Linked DNA regions of Homo sapiens: all the other regions are linked to region 1. The links are contacts of gene promoters, found by promoter capture Hi-C in blood cells and fetal thymus (Javierre and others, 2016). All regions are on one chromosome and are shown on one strand. Each heading gives the region's core, a stretch centred on a gene start or on the middle of the fragment in contact. The rest is flanking DNA. Distances are from core to core; before and after follow the strand shown. Region 1 holds the start of SOCS3 (suppressor of cytokine signaling 3). Region 2 overlaps TNRC6C (trinucleotide repeat containing adaptor 6C). Region 3 overlaps CYTH1 (cytohesin 1). Region 4 overlaps TNRC6C (trinucleotide repeat containing adaptor 6C).

The links. The method cuts DNA at HindIII sites, captures the fragments that hold promoters and counts their contacts. A CHiCAGO score of 5 or more calls a contact.
Region 2: a fragment that was not itself captured here is called in contact with the fragment with the promoter of SOCS3 in region 1 in 1 of 17 cell types (M2 macrophages); the score reaches 6.6 in M2 macrophages.
Region 3: a fragment that was not itself captured here is called in contact with the fragment with the promoter of SOCS3 in region 1 in 1 of 17 cell types (monocytes); the score reaches 5.2 in monocytes.
Region 4: a contact is called between a fragment that was not itself captured here and the fragment with the promoter of SOCS3 in region 1, in 3 of 17 cell types (M2 macrophages, M0 macrophages and M1 macrophages). The highest score is 6.6, in M2 macrophages.

What each region holds. Positions count from the first base shown.
Region 1 is chr17:78,358,197-78,361,326 of GRCh38, forward strand. SOCS3 (suppressor of cytokine signaling 3) reads right to left here and starts at 1,881. Exons shown (of 2, transcript NM_003955.5): 1 at 1,554-1,881; 2 at 1-987. The coding sequence starts at 899. The coding sequence ends at 222. SOCS3-DT (SOCS3 divergent transcript) reads left to right here and starts at 2,252. Exons shown (of 5, transcript NR_110847.1): 1 at 2,252-2,577. RefSeq lists silencers at 993-1,232, 1,643-1,922, 1,933-2,242, 2,303-2,502, 2,733-2,782 and an enhancer at 1,237-1,885. The HindIII fragment of the contact is 6,903 bases long and covers 1-3,130 here.
Region 2 is chr17:78,018,440-78,021,569 of GRCh38, forward strand. All of the region lies in intron 3 of TNRC6C (trinucleotide repeat containing adaptor 6C), which reads left to right. Among named protein-coding and RNA genes, the nearest start is that of TNRC6C, 61 kb to the left of the region's middle. The HindIII fragment of the contact is 837 bases long and covers 1,160-1,996 here.
Region 3 is chr17:78,679,674-78,682,803 of GRCh38, forward strand. CYTH1 (cytohesin 1) reads right to left here. Exons shown (of 14, transcript NM_004762.6): 12 at 1,298-1,369; 13 at 517-671. Among named protein-coding and RNA genes, the nearest start is that of SCAT1, 49 kb to the left of the region's middle. The HindIII fragment of the contact is 2,142 bases long and covers 392-2,533 here.
Region 4 is chr17:78,086,019-78,089,148 of GRCh38, forward strand. TNRC6C (trinucleotide repeat containing adaptor 6C) reads left to right here. Exons shown (of 23, transcript NM_001142640.2): 14 at 485-568; 15 at 835-1,075. Among named protein-coding and RNA genes, the nearest start is that of TMC6, 41 kb to the right of the region's middle. The HindIII fragment of the contact is 4,187 bases long and covers 1-3,130 here.

The sequences.
Region 1 (3,130 bases), core at 631-3,130:
AGCTGGAGACTCAGGTGGTACTCCCCCTTCCCTCCAACACATTCCAGGTCCGCCTGCCACATTCTGCAGGGAGAGGGCAGAGGGAGGGGCCTGTCCGCCCTCTTTCCCCCCAGAGCTACAGGACTCTCTCCTGGTTGGCTTCTTGTGCTTGTGCCATGTGCCACGGAGGAGAGGGGCCTGCGTCCCCTCTCCCGACCCATGCCCTTTGCGCCCTTTACCCCTTAAAGCGGGGCATCGTACTGGTCCAGGAACTCCCGAATGGGCCCCGGCAGCTGGGTGACTTTCTCATAGGAGTCCAGGTGGCCGTTGACGGTCTTCCGACAGAGATGCTGAAGAGTGGCCACGTTGGAGGAGAGGGGCCGGCTCAACACCAGGGGGATCTTCTCGCCCCCGGAGTAGATGTAATAGGCTCTTCTGGGGGGACTCCCAGGGAGTGGCTGGGCAGACGGCTGCTCGGGCACCTCGGAGGAGGGTTCAGTAGGTGGCGAGGGGAAGGAGGGGGCTCCAGGGGGCGGCATGTAGTGGTGCACCAGCTTGAGCACGCAGTCGAAGCGGGGCACGGGCTGCGTGCTCCGGGGATCGCTCTGCAGAGAGAAGCTGCCCCCCTCACACTGGATGCGCAGGTTCTTGGTCCCAGACTGGGTCTTGACGCTGAGCGTGAAGAAGTGGCGCTGGTCCGAGCTGTCGCGGATCAGAAAGGTGCCGGCGGGCTCGGCACTGAGCAGCAGGTTCGCCTCGCCGCCGGTCACTGCGCTCCAGTAGAAGCCGCTCTCCTGCAGCTTGCGCACTGCGTTCACCACCAGCTGGTACTCGCTCTTGGAGCTGAAGGTCTTGAGGCGCAGGCTGGTGTCCAGGGGGCGGCTCATCCCGGCGGCGGGAAACTTGCTGTGGGTGACCATGGCGCACGGAGCCAGCGTGGATCTGCGCGGCGGCGGCTGCAGCTGCTTCGCGGCCTCCGCACAGCGGCCGCTACCGCATCCCGGGGGGCTGCGGAGAGGAAGGCGCGAGCGCGTTGAGTGCCCGGAACCCTCCAGCGCGCCCGGCCCGCCCCGGCTCCCCTGCCTTCGCCGAGCGACTGGGGCACCCACTGCCCCGGGGGCCCTCTCCTGGGCCCGCGCTCCGATCCAGGCGCCTCACGGAGCCCGCACGGCTCCCGCCCCTGCCGGCAGGGTGGCCCCGGGCAGCCCCTTCCCAGGCGCGCACTGCAAGGGCGCAGCGTGGGAAACTCGCGCGCGGAAGTTAGGTCTCCAGGAGTGTGGCCGGGTGGGGAGCAGGAGAAGGGCCCCCGGGACTGCCTGGGCGCCGCTCAGTCCAGTAGCCCCGGGCGGTGTGGACGGAGGGAGAAACCCGAGGCACGGGGGTAGGGAGGGGACAGGAGAAGCCCGAAGGCCCCAGCCGGAGTATTCCGGGAACCTGGGATCTCCGGCTTCCATCCGCTCTGCCCCTACCTCGTCACCTCCCTGCCGGGAATGACCCGGGAAGGGGAGGGGAAACCGGGAAAAGCTCCCGGGACTGAGCGAGACCCCTCCCCACGCCGCGCTCCTCCTTCCTACCTGGTCCCGAATCGAAGTCTCCGTCCTTGGGGCTGAGCCCCCTCGGGTCCCCAAGGCGACGCGGCGGCGAGACGGCCAGCGGTGGCCCGCGCTGCGCCCAGATGTTGGCGGCCGTGAAGTCCACAAAGGAGCCTTCGCGCGCGCGTCCCTCGAGCTTCCCCTGGGCGCCCGCCCTGCCCCCTGCGCACCCCCGGACCAACCGGGAGGGGACCAGGAGAGGGACCGCGGCAAGGGGCCGCGGCGGGAGCTGGGCCGGGCGGGCGGCTGGCGGCTGGCTGCGTGCGGGGCCGAAGCGGCAGCAGCGGAGCAGGGAGTCCAAGTCGGAGCCGCCGCGGAGGCCGCGCTCGCGGGTATATAGGCGGCCGCCGCGCCCCGCCCCCCGATTCCTGGAACTGCGCGGCCGGCCTTCTTGTAATGTTTAGTCACTACTCGCAGCAGAGAAAGGCTGAGCGCGGAGGGTGAGGGAGGGGCCGCGGGCGCCGAGGGCGGGCCGCGAGCAGGGGCAGGGACCGGGAGGGACGCGCGCGGAGACAAAGCGCGACGAGAGGCGGCCGAGGCGGCCGGTGGGCGCGGCGCCAGCCCCGGCGGCGCGTTCCTGGCAGCGGCCCCTCCCCGCCGCGCGCTCCGCCCCCAACTTCTCATTCACACTTTCCCCCCACCCCCCTCCCTTCTAAGAAGGCTGATTTCTGGCAGAGGCGGGGGCGCCGCTTCGGGAGAGCGGGCAGTTCTAGGAGGCCGACCTGGAGAGCCTCCCGGTTCCCCTTCCCCTTTTCCCGGACCCCGCGGGGACACCCCCTCGCCGCCACCCGGGCCTCCCCGAGGGCCCAACTGCGGGTCAGGCGGCCCGGGCCAGCCGAAAGGGAAGTGGGGCTACCCCACAGCCAGGCAGCGGGGCTGGGGTCAGACCCGGGAGCCGGAGGTTGGAGACGTGCGACAGTCACCTGCGGGCAGATTCCAGAGGGGAGACCCAGGGCTGCAGGGGACGCCCCTTCGTGGCAGCTACCCAGCCTCGGCCCACTGCCAGGTTCTTTGCCAACCCTGACGCGAGTGTGGAGCCCCCCTCCCCTCCCCTATGAAAACGCTTTCATGCACTGGGGTCTGCAAACCTGGTTGGTCCGGTGTGGGTTGGGCCAGGTGCTCTCGGCCGGGCTGGAGAGCTCGAGGTGGAACGATGGCCCCAACCTACGGCCCGCGTCCGCCAGAGGGCGCCCTGGGGTCTCCTAGGGGAGGGCAGTTTGGTGCTGCGCGGCCCAGGCCTTGGAATAGGCACGCCAGGGATCTGCGGGAATGGCTGTCTCCGGAGCTGGAAAGGTGGCCGAGAAGGGGGCATTCACACCCCAGGCTGGGGTCAGACCTGGGAATAAAATTCTAGCAGGAGAGAATTTCCGGAAAGCAGTTTTCCGGGGTTCAGGCTACTGCCAGATGGCCCACACCCCCTGGAATGTGACCCCCTGCCTCTCTTGGGGTGGGGGAGGACTTGATCACTGGCGGGGAGGGGGTAGAGGGGAGGAGAGGAAGTGATTGAGGTGAAAGATTGGTTTGCTGCTGGTCACGTTGGCACTGACGTAGATAGTTTG
Region 2 (3,130 bases), core at 328-2,827, 340 kb before region 1:
TTTTTATATAATACTCAGTATTCACAGTGCCTGGCACAGAATAGGAACCCATTAAATATTTTCTAAATAAGGAGAGGATAGGTGGGGATATTGACATGTTTGGGGGGGTGGAGCAAATGGTAGGCAGATTGCATGGGAAAACAACGAGTTTGAGCCCTTATTTACCGTGCTTTCCTTTTTTTGCAGCACTTTACACCTGGTGAACCATGTATCTTACTTACACATCAAGTTTATTATTGATCCTTTTTCTCTACTAAGATGTGAGCTCCACAGGGCCAGGGATCTCTCTTTTGTTCCTTGATACAGCCCCAGCCTAGAGGAGGCTGAGCTGTAGAAAACCTCTGTATTTATTGAATGAGTGAGTACTGTCTCTATAAACTAGAAATCCAGGCCATAGATTGAGAGAAGCTGGATGGCATCAGGATTCCAGAGTGCAGGAAAAGTTTTAAGCAGTTACAAGAGGGGGGTTTTGGCAGTCCATGTTAGGTTAGTAAGAGGAATTCTTGGTGGCAGCAGGTGCTTATGCTAGTGTTAGTAGGTAACAGAGCTCATTGCTGTTTCTGAGACTACATGTGGCAGTGTCAGGCGGTCTGGAAATGACTGAAGGTTGGGATGATACAGAAGTATGGATAGCAAGCATAGTGAAAGGAAGGAAGGTCGGGGGCCTCGGCTGTTACAGATGACGATATTGAAGTGACTGAGCATGATGAGACTCAAGCCAACTAAAATGGCTAGGAAAGAAGCAGAGAGAATGGGGTTGCAGCCAGGACTTGAAAAGGCTCAGACCCTAGCAAGGGTAGACTGGAGGCTAACGAGGCTGGGTCAGCAAGGCAAGTTCCTTCTGTCTTGGTATCTTAGAGATGACAATGTAGTAGAAAAGTCTGAAAAGGAGCTCTTTCAAAATCAAGTTCTCCAAAGTCTGAAGGGACAGCAGCCTGAACTTTGTGTCCATACTGTAGCCTGTCATTTTAGAAAAAGCAAAATGTGGGAATCTCTCTATTTGGCCCTGTTATGACAACACTACCTGAAAATTTTAGCTGAAAGCAGAAAATCCTTGGAAAGAAAATTGTTTTAAAAGACTGTTGCTTTCTTATATAAAGAGTTACCATCTACCTTTTCACCAGCAGATGTCACCCTCATTTAAAAAACAAAAGGCAAAAGCTTACTAGGCAAAGAGTAACCAAAATTTCCATCTTGCTGAAAGTTTTTTAAAATTATATATGTAGTTATTAAATGGTTGCTATCTTAATATTTCTTAAATAAAACAAATGATTTGTTGAAAAATCATAAAGAAACTAAAGTTCCCATTGCCTTCCTGTATTCTCCTGCTGCATGAAAATGCTGATATGCAAAAGGGTAGGTTCCCATGTGAGTCCTTATCTGTGAGGTATGGCCCTAGAGTCAGGTCTTTTTGAAGAAGGGGAATGTCAAGATTGCTTTGATGCCCTGGTTTTTTAGACAGTAATAGACCCATAAGTGAGGATCTGAAAAGAGTTTATGGCTAGACAAAAAAAGAAAATGCCCATTTAATTTATCTGTGTTACAAGAATAGATCCAGATTTTGAGATCTTCCACTTATCCCTTCAGATTATTAAGTGGCTGCTTGATTCAAAGATCCAAAAATTACTGGCTTAAGTCAGAAGGTTTATCACTGCATAATATAAAAGAGACCCAGAGGTGTACAGCTCAACTGGGTCAGAATTCCGCATTCCTCTGTCTGTTGCTTTGCTGAGTGAGGCTTCTCTTCCCTTTTCTTAGGGTCCAGGATGACCTGTAGACTACCAGCCATAGCATTAGCATTGCAAGCTGGAAATATCACTGTGAGAACAAGTACGTGGGTAAACTGAGTGTGCCATGCTTGCATTATACTCCGGGACCCTTGGTCTTTTTATTAATTGAATACATGCTTTGTGGCATTTTTTTCTGTTTGTAAAATAATGTGCTAGTACTTTAGTGTAGAGTAAATAGTTGTAAGGGAAATTCTCCCACCTGAAAAAGCTTGTGATCTGTCACAACTTGTAGTTTCTCAATCTCTGTTTCACTTTCAGTCTTTATGAAAACAGGTAATTATTTAGCGGTTTCTGAGAAACTAGCTTAAACTTTATCCTTTCCAATAATACAATGCCATTTCTAGACCAGCACCATTCAAAAGAAATAATGGAAGCCACAAATGTGAGCCACATGAATCATTTTAAATAGGCTAGTTGCATCATCTAAAAAGTAACAGGCGGAATTACTTTTAATAATGTTTAACTTGATATATCCAAAATATCGCCATTTCAATGTGAAAGCAACAGAAAAATTGTTAATGAGGTATTTCTCTTTTTTTTGGTGCTAAGTCTTTAGAATCCAGTATATGTTTTAATACTAAGTACATCTCAATTTAGACCTCAAGGCTCAATAGCCACACTTGGCCAGTGGCTGCTGTACTGGGCAGCACATGGTCATCCTTCCCCTCTACACTTGTCTGAGATTTCCAGTCAATTGCACAAGCTTTAAATACTCTGTGTGTCTTCTTTATTTCCCCAGTTCATTGTTGATTCACTTAAGTGAGAAACCTAAGTGCTCCAGTGCCTTCCTACGGCAACCAACACAGTCCTGGACTCAGACCAGGAAATTCTTGTTTGACTTTTGGATGTGTTTAGTAGGAAAGAAAGCTTCCTTCAGGCAGCACTGTCCAGTAGGTAGCTGAAGAAGGAGGCTGGACTTGGAGCTCGAGGGCAACACTGGGACAGTACTCAGGCATCAGTAGCACAGAAATGATGGTCAGAATGGTGAGCATGGACAACCTCTCCAGAGAGTCCAGGGCTGGAGAATGAGTACAAAGACTTGAAGTCCATTAGCAGTGAGAGGGCCAGCAGAGCACAAAGGCGTCTCTGAGGGGCACAGGAGGGGCGTGGGCCACGCATTCAGACAAGCCTGATGTGCTTGTGCTCGTTCACTGGTCCTGTTGTGCTCATAGCTCAAGGCTGTTATAAAGTAAAAGCACCTGCGTTTCTAAGAGAGTGATTTCATTTCTCCATACTTAATATGTTCCTGTTTCTTCTTGATAAATAGCATCATTTTAACTTTTCATTCAGTAATCATAAAAAAGATTATGGAGAGGAGACATGGAATAGGTTATTTATTT
Region 3 (3,130 bases), core at 213-2,712, 320 kb after region 1:
CTCCACTTCTTAGCTGTGGAACCCTGAGGAAGCTTCTCCCTCCTCCCGGACCTTGGATCACGGTATGTGACTTCCAGCAAATTTCTTAACCTCTATGGGCCTCAGTTTCCTCATCTGTAGCTAGGAAAATGGTGTCTCACAGGATTCACAAATTACAGAACATGACTACTATCTCCTCTGAGCTGTCACTATGAGAATGAGAGCGGCTTCGTCAGACACAGAAAGACCAGTTGAGCAGATGGCATCTGTGTGGGTAGCTCACTCGCCTCTTCCTATTTTGGGTCTATGAGGACACGTGGGGAACCCAGATGGGACGTGCTCTCTTACATATGCTATAATAGCCAAGAATCCAAAGGCCTCCTGGGAAGCCGTCAGCTGGGAACCAGGACGAAGCTTCCCTAAGAACTTGGAGCACAGAAGAGATGCGGGCGGCATGTTTAACCACTAAGATGATCAACACCTGGTGAGGTGAGGGCTGCACCAGGCGCGCACTGCCCTTTCTCAGCAGTCACTTACTTAATGCACTTAATCCACTCCTCCTTCTCCTCGGGCGTCGGAGCTGAGATCCGGTAAACAGTGTGGTTCCCCTCCACCACCCGCCCGTCAGCCTCGGTCTTGCAGGCCTTGATAACTTGGTCTTTATTGTCGGGGATATAAAGCTCAAAGCAGTTCTGAGAATCAAAACAGAGAGGGAGAGAGTGGAGCAAAGGAAGCTGTTAACTGAGAAACATGCTGATTTCTTTCCCCAAAACCCCTTTCTTCTGACCTTCACAAAATACAAGGAATACATATTTTCCTGTGGAAAAGTGAAGCCTAGAAGCGGAATTCTAGAGACTGTAAATTGTATAGAAGTCAGTCTCGTTTGCAAACACACCGGCCTGATATAAGCTGGCCCCACTTGCAATGTACGTAAAATGCGGAGAGAACTGCAGGTGACTCACGACTTTAACTTCAAGCCAGTAACATCCTGACAGCCCAAAACAAAGGAAAACTAAACGGGAGGTGTCCCAAGGGTATAAACTACATAGCCCACTCCTGCGTGCTTGCCGCTGCCATTGCAGGAGGGGCAACTTCTACACCCCATGTGACATTCACTAAGTGAAACGATAAAGCAGACAGACGGCACAGGAAGAAGTGATTTCGAGTCTCATCTTTGGCTTGAACAATATAATAAAAAATTAGACTAAATAAAAGCCTGATCACGCTTTTCAGTTTTTTGGTTTTGAGTTTTTTAAAAAAAATCTTTGAAATGCCCATCCCCTTTCTCCCCTCAAAATATCTCAGCAAAAATACTCACTGGTTTTTTGGAGTCCTCCACTTCCCGGATACTCAGATTCTCTAAAGGGATGATTCCACGGGGCTCCTTATCCTACAGAACAGTTGAAGAGAGGAAGTTTAAGATCACAGTTTAAGGACACACACTGTCAGATTCCTCGCCGGTGACTCAGCCGAACTTTCCTGCTTTCTCCCAGGACATGAAGTTCATAAATCAGCCTGAGGGAACTCCTTACATTCTAAACAAGAATAACACCAAAAATGTCTGAGGATTGTCAATATAACTGCTAAGTCCTCCGCGAGTAGAAAGACCAGAAGATTCAACAGACACCGTGAGAGTGTGGCCGGCAGTGACCCGGGCACGGTCCTCAAGCAGGGAGTGTGCGGGCCCCTTTCCCTCTTCCCTTTGCCTGGCTCTCCCACTCACCTCTGAAGCCTCAGTTCTGGGGCAACAACTCCAGGAAGCCTTTCCTAGTTTCACCCTAGCGCCCCGATGCCTGGGACTGCAGCTGTGGGTCTGACCATTAACCACTCACTGCCTCTGTCCATCGCCCCACCGCCAGACAGTACAATCCTCAGAGACACTGCCATCCTGACAACTCCACCTGGATTTCCAAAGGCACCTTGACTCCTGTCCAGAACAGAGCTGCACCCGCCAACTAGTCCCATCTCATCTACAGAGGGCACGGCACCGCAGACACTTCCAGCACACGCCTGACGGCAGTTTCACAGTCCCCTGATATCCAGCCAACCCATGGCCAAGTCCTAGCACTGTTAAAGTCTTTATATTTGGCCAGGAGAATGGTGTGAACCCAGGAGACGGAGCCTGCAGTGGGCCCAGATAGCGCCACTGCACTCCAGCCTGGGTGACAGAGCAAGACTCTGTCTCAAAAAAAAAAAAAAAAAACCAACCAGTTCTATGAGTTCTCTAAAAGCGAAAAAGAGTCTTTCAGCCATTTCCCCATCCTGGCTAGCAACTATTTCCAACTTCTTCAAGCCAACCTGCTTGGTCTTTACCTCTGTATCTCACACATCTCCAAAATACCATATTAGAACTGCCTTTTGACTGCTTGATTTTAGATGTTATCTACAGAAGAGGACTGAGCTCCTCTTACCCGGGCATATTCATATTCCCCGTCCTCCTAAAATAACTATCTGGTCATCTGAGGTAGGGCTATACACAGTGTCTTCATTAACACCACGTTTCTCTTCCGACCTGTGCCATATAGTGAACTTCCTAATTTTTTCCTTCCTGAAAAGCTTCCTTCCCCACTGGAACCAAAATTATGGAGGGTGGAGAAGTGGGTTGTTCCTTTGATTTATATTTCTGTGACCTTACCACCAAAACCAATTGCAAATGGTTAACCTCTTATCAAAATCTCCTTGCTAATGCTAATTTGTATCAGGCATCCTATTAATTTTCATTTCTTGAAGTAATCCTTCCTGGAGCCTCTGAAACCTGTTCCAGTCTGGACTGGTTGCCTTGATACTCGGTAAACTGCTTCATCCTTAACCTCAGCACTCTCCATTCCAGAGCACTCTTCCCTCCTCTCTTGAAACAAGAGGTTTCAAGATCTCTGGTTTCCTACAGCCAAGGCCTTTGTCCTCCACCAGCATCCTGAGAAAGGGTGTGTGGGTGGTAACATTTCTGAAATCTCACTTGGCTAAGAATGTTTCTATTGGACCCTCACACCTGGCTGCTATCTGGCTGTGCCTAACAGTCTAGGCTGGACGTGACCCTCCTCCAAGACTGGGAAGCCCAGCATTCCTGCCTTCAGCATTCAATATCACCCTACACAAAGCTGTTCTGGTTGCTGGTGCTTTGCACACGACTGCCGTCCTCTGTGTCCTCAGT
Region 4 (3,130 bases), core at 408-2,907, 270 kb before region 1:
GCTCTGTGCCTCCAGAATATGTGTCAGCCATGGCTGGGCGCCGTGGCTCATGCCTGTAATCCCAGCACTTTGGGAGGCTGAGGCAGGCAGATCACGAAGTCAGTAGTTTGAGACCAGCCTGGCCAACATAATGAAACCCCGTCTCTACTAAAAATACAAAAATTAGCTGGGCGTGGTGGCACACGACTGCAATCCCAGCTACTCGGGAGGCTGAGGCAGGAGAATTGCTTGAACCCGGGAGGCAGAGGTGGCAGTGAGCTGAGATCACGCCATTACACTCCAGCCTGGATGACAGAGCGAGACTCCATCTAAAAAAAAAAAAAAAAAAAAAAAAAAAAAAAACAGTATGTGTCAGCCACAGTATGGGCCAAGAAGAGTGGCTAGGTTCTCTTTTTTTATTTTTTAACTAATGTCAGAAAGTTGAACCATTAGTTCAACTTACACTTAATTATCATACTATTTTAACTCTTCGTTCTGTCAACAGGCATACCAACGTTTACAAATCCAGCAGCAGATGTTACAGGCCCAGCGTAATGTGTCCGGATCCATGAGACAACAGGAGCAGCAAGTAGGTGCTACCCAGATTGATTTTTGTCATGAGCTATAATTTTCCCTGATAGAAGAGACGCTAATTGATGAACTATTAGATGATCATTGATTTTTCTCTAGCCAAGCCTTCCTTTGAAAATTCCTGGGTTCAGCTAGGTTTGGGAGGAGGTTGGCCTAGCCAGTAGTGGCCTCAGCATAAAGACAATGAAGAATGCATTTGGTCCCTAGACAAGCCATGAGTGTCCCTTCCCACCTAGTTAACGCACCTATGTCTCTGCCTGCCAGGTTGCGCGCACAATCACTAATCTGCAGCAGCAGATCCAGCAGCACCAGCGCCAGCTGGCCCAGGCCCTGCTCGTGAAGCAGCCACCACCGCCACCGCCCCCGCCGCACCTGTCTCTGCACCCCTCTGCAGGCAAATCGGCCATGGACAGCTTCCCCTCGCACCCACAGACTCCCGGCCTACCTGACCTGCAGACCAAAGAGCAGCAGTCTTCACCCAACACCTTTGCTCCTTACCCTCTCGGTGAGTGTCCCATGGTCTTCAACAGCCACATCAGGTAGAGAGGGTACCTGGAGTCCGTATGTGGTAGCCAGGGCAGCATTTCAGTGGTTAGGAGGACTGGCCAGCGCTGAAACCATAGCCTGTTGGAAATGCAGCCCCAGACAAAATCGGAGAGCAGGTATCTCAAGGCTTTTTAATTTTAAAAAAATTTTTTAATTATTTTTTTGAGAGATGGGGGTCTCACCATGTTGCTCAGGCTGGTCTTGAACTCCTGGGCTCAAGCAATCCTCCCACCTCAGCCTCTTAAAGTGCTGGGTTTATAGGTGTGAGCCACCATGCCCAGCCTCAAGGATTTGTAATAAGGGAACAACACTAACCACGTTGTATAGAGCAGGAGTTTTGCCGCTGCCAATAATACTCTCAGTATAAAACCTTTAAAGGTAGTACCAGTCAGAGCCCCCAAAATCTCATTTCCATTGTCAAATCTCCAAAGTTTGTTCTGTTCCTAGTCTACTCTGAACTGTACTTTACCAGCCACTGTCCTCCAGCCTAAACCACAGAGAAGACTTTATAATGGTTTGGTCAGTAAAAGTATTCAGATTTACATTAAAAGCACTTCTTAAAAAGCAGTGGTTGTTGATACAACTCATTTTGTATGAAATGTGATTTGTATAATCGACCAAATCAACATATATATGTTGAAATCTAACTTGTAGAAGCACACTCAGCACTTGAAACCCGCAGGTCAGTAGAAGACATGGTGCCAGGCCTCGAGGTCAGGCCAGTCAGGAGAGACACAGCTCACATACCTGAAGACACCAGAGGGTATAAATTAGTAAATTGATTCTGCATGGACTAATTTGCCGTAAGAATTCAGAAGTTAGTGAAAGCACTTTAGGCTTGTCTGTTGATTGCTATTAGAGTCTGTAGATACAGGACAAAGGGTTATCGGTAACTTGGAAAATACATCTGTAAAGGGGCAAAGGCCAGTTGAGTGGTAGTGAATTTGCTGCCAGCAGATAATATTCATTTATCTAATTCTATTCAATGTCTCTGAAAAGAGCGGTATATTGTAATCATATGAATCCTTTTTACTTGACATATTATAAATGTGGTATATCTTTAATATGAGATTGATAAATACTAGACTAGATGATCTCGTTCCTTAATTATTGTCTCATCCATTAGAGCCCTTTGTGTCGAAGTAGGTAAGACCTGACTTAGGAATTAGACTCCCTAGGTTTGAGTCCCAACTCACCACCAAGAGGCTCACTACTAACTTGGGCAACTTGCCTAGCTGCTGTTTGCTTCAATTTCTTTATTTTTCTTTCTTTTTTTTTTGGTAGAGACAGGGTCTTTCTATGTTGCCCAGGCAAGTCTCAAAACTCCTGGCCTCAAGTGATCCTCCCTAAGTGTTAGGATTACAGGCCTGAGACACCATACTGAGCCATGCCTTAATTTCTTCATCTGTAATGTGGAAATACTTAACTCCTAGGTTTGTTTTAAAGATTAAATGAGCTAATATGTAAAGTTCTCTTTTTTCTTTTTTTTTTCTCTCTCTTTTTTTTTTTGGCTGGAGTGCAGTGGCGTGATCATAGCTCATTGCAGCCTCAAACTCCTGGCCTTAAGTGATCCTGCTGGTCTCAGCTTCCCAAAGTGCTGTGATTACAGGCATGAGCCATCACACCTGGCCTAATATGTAAAGTTCTTAAATAGTGCCTAGCACATAGCAAACACTTTGTAAAATGTCAGCTACTTATGTAAGTGCTTCTGTTTTAGAAACAAATTTCATCCCACCTATTATCCTAAAATGCATTAGCTTCAGCTTTCTATTATTCACCTGTCTTCTTAACCTATATTTGGAGGATAAAGTACACTTATCGTTACTTTTTTTTTTTTTTTTTTTTTTTTTTGAGATAGAGTCTTGCTCTGTTGCCCAGGCTGGAGTGCGATGGCGCAGTCTCGGCTCACTGCAACCTCCACCTTCTGGATTCAAGCAATTCTCCTGCCTCAGCCTCCCAAATTGATGGGATTACAGGCATGCATCACCACGCCTGGCTAATTTTTGTATTTTTA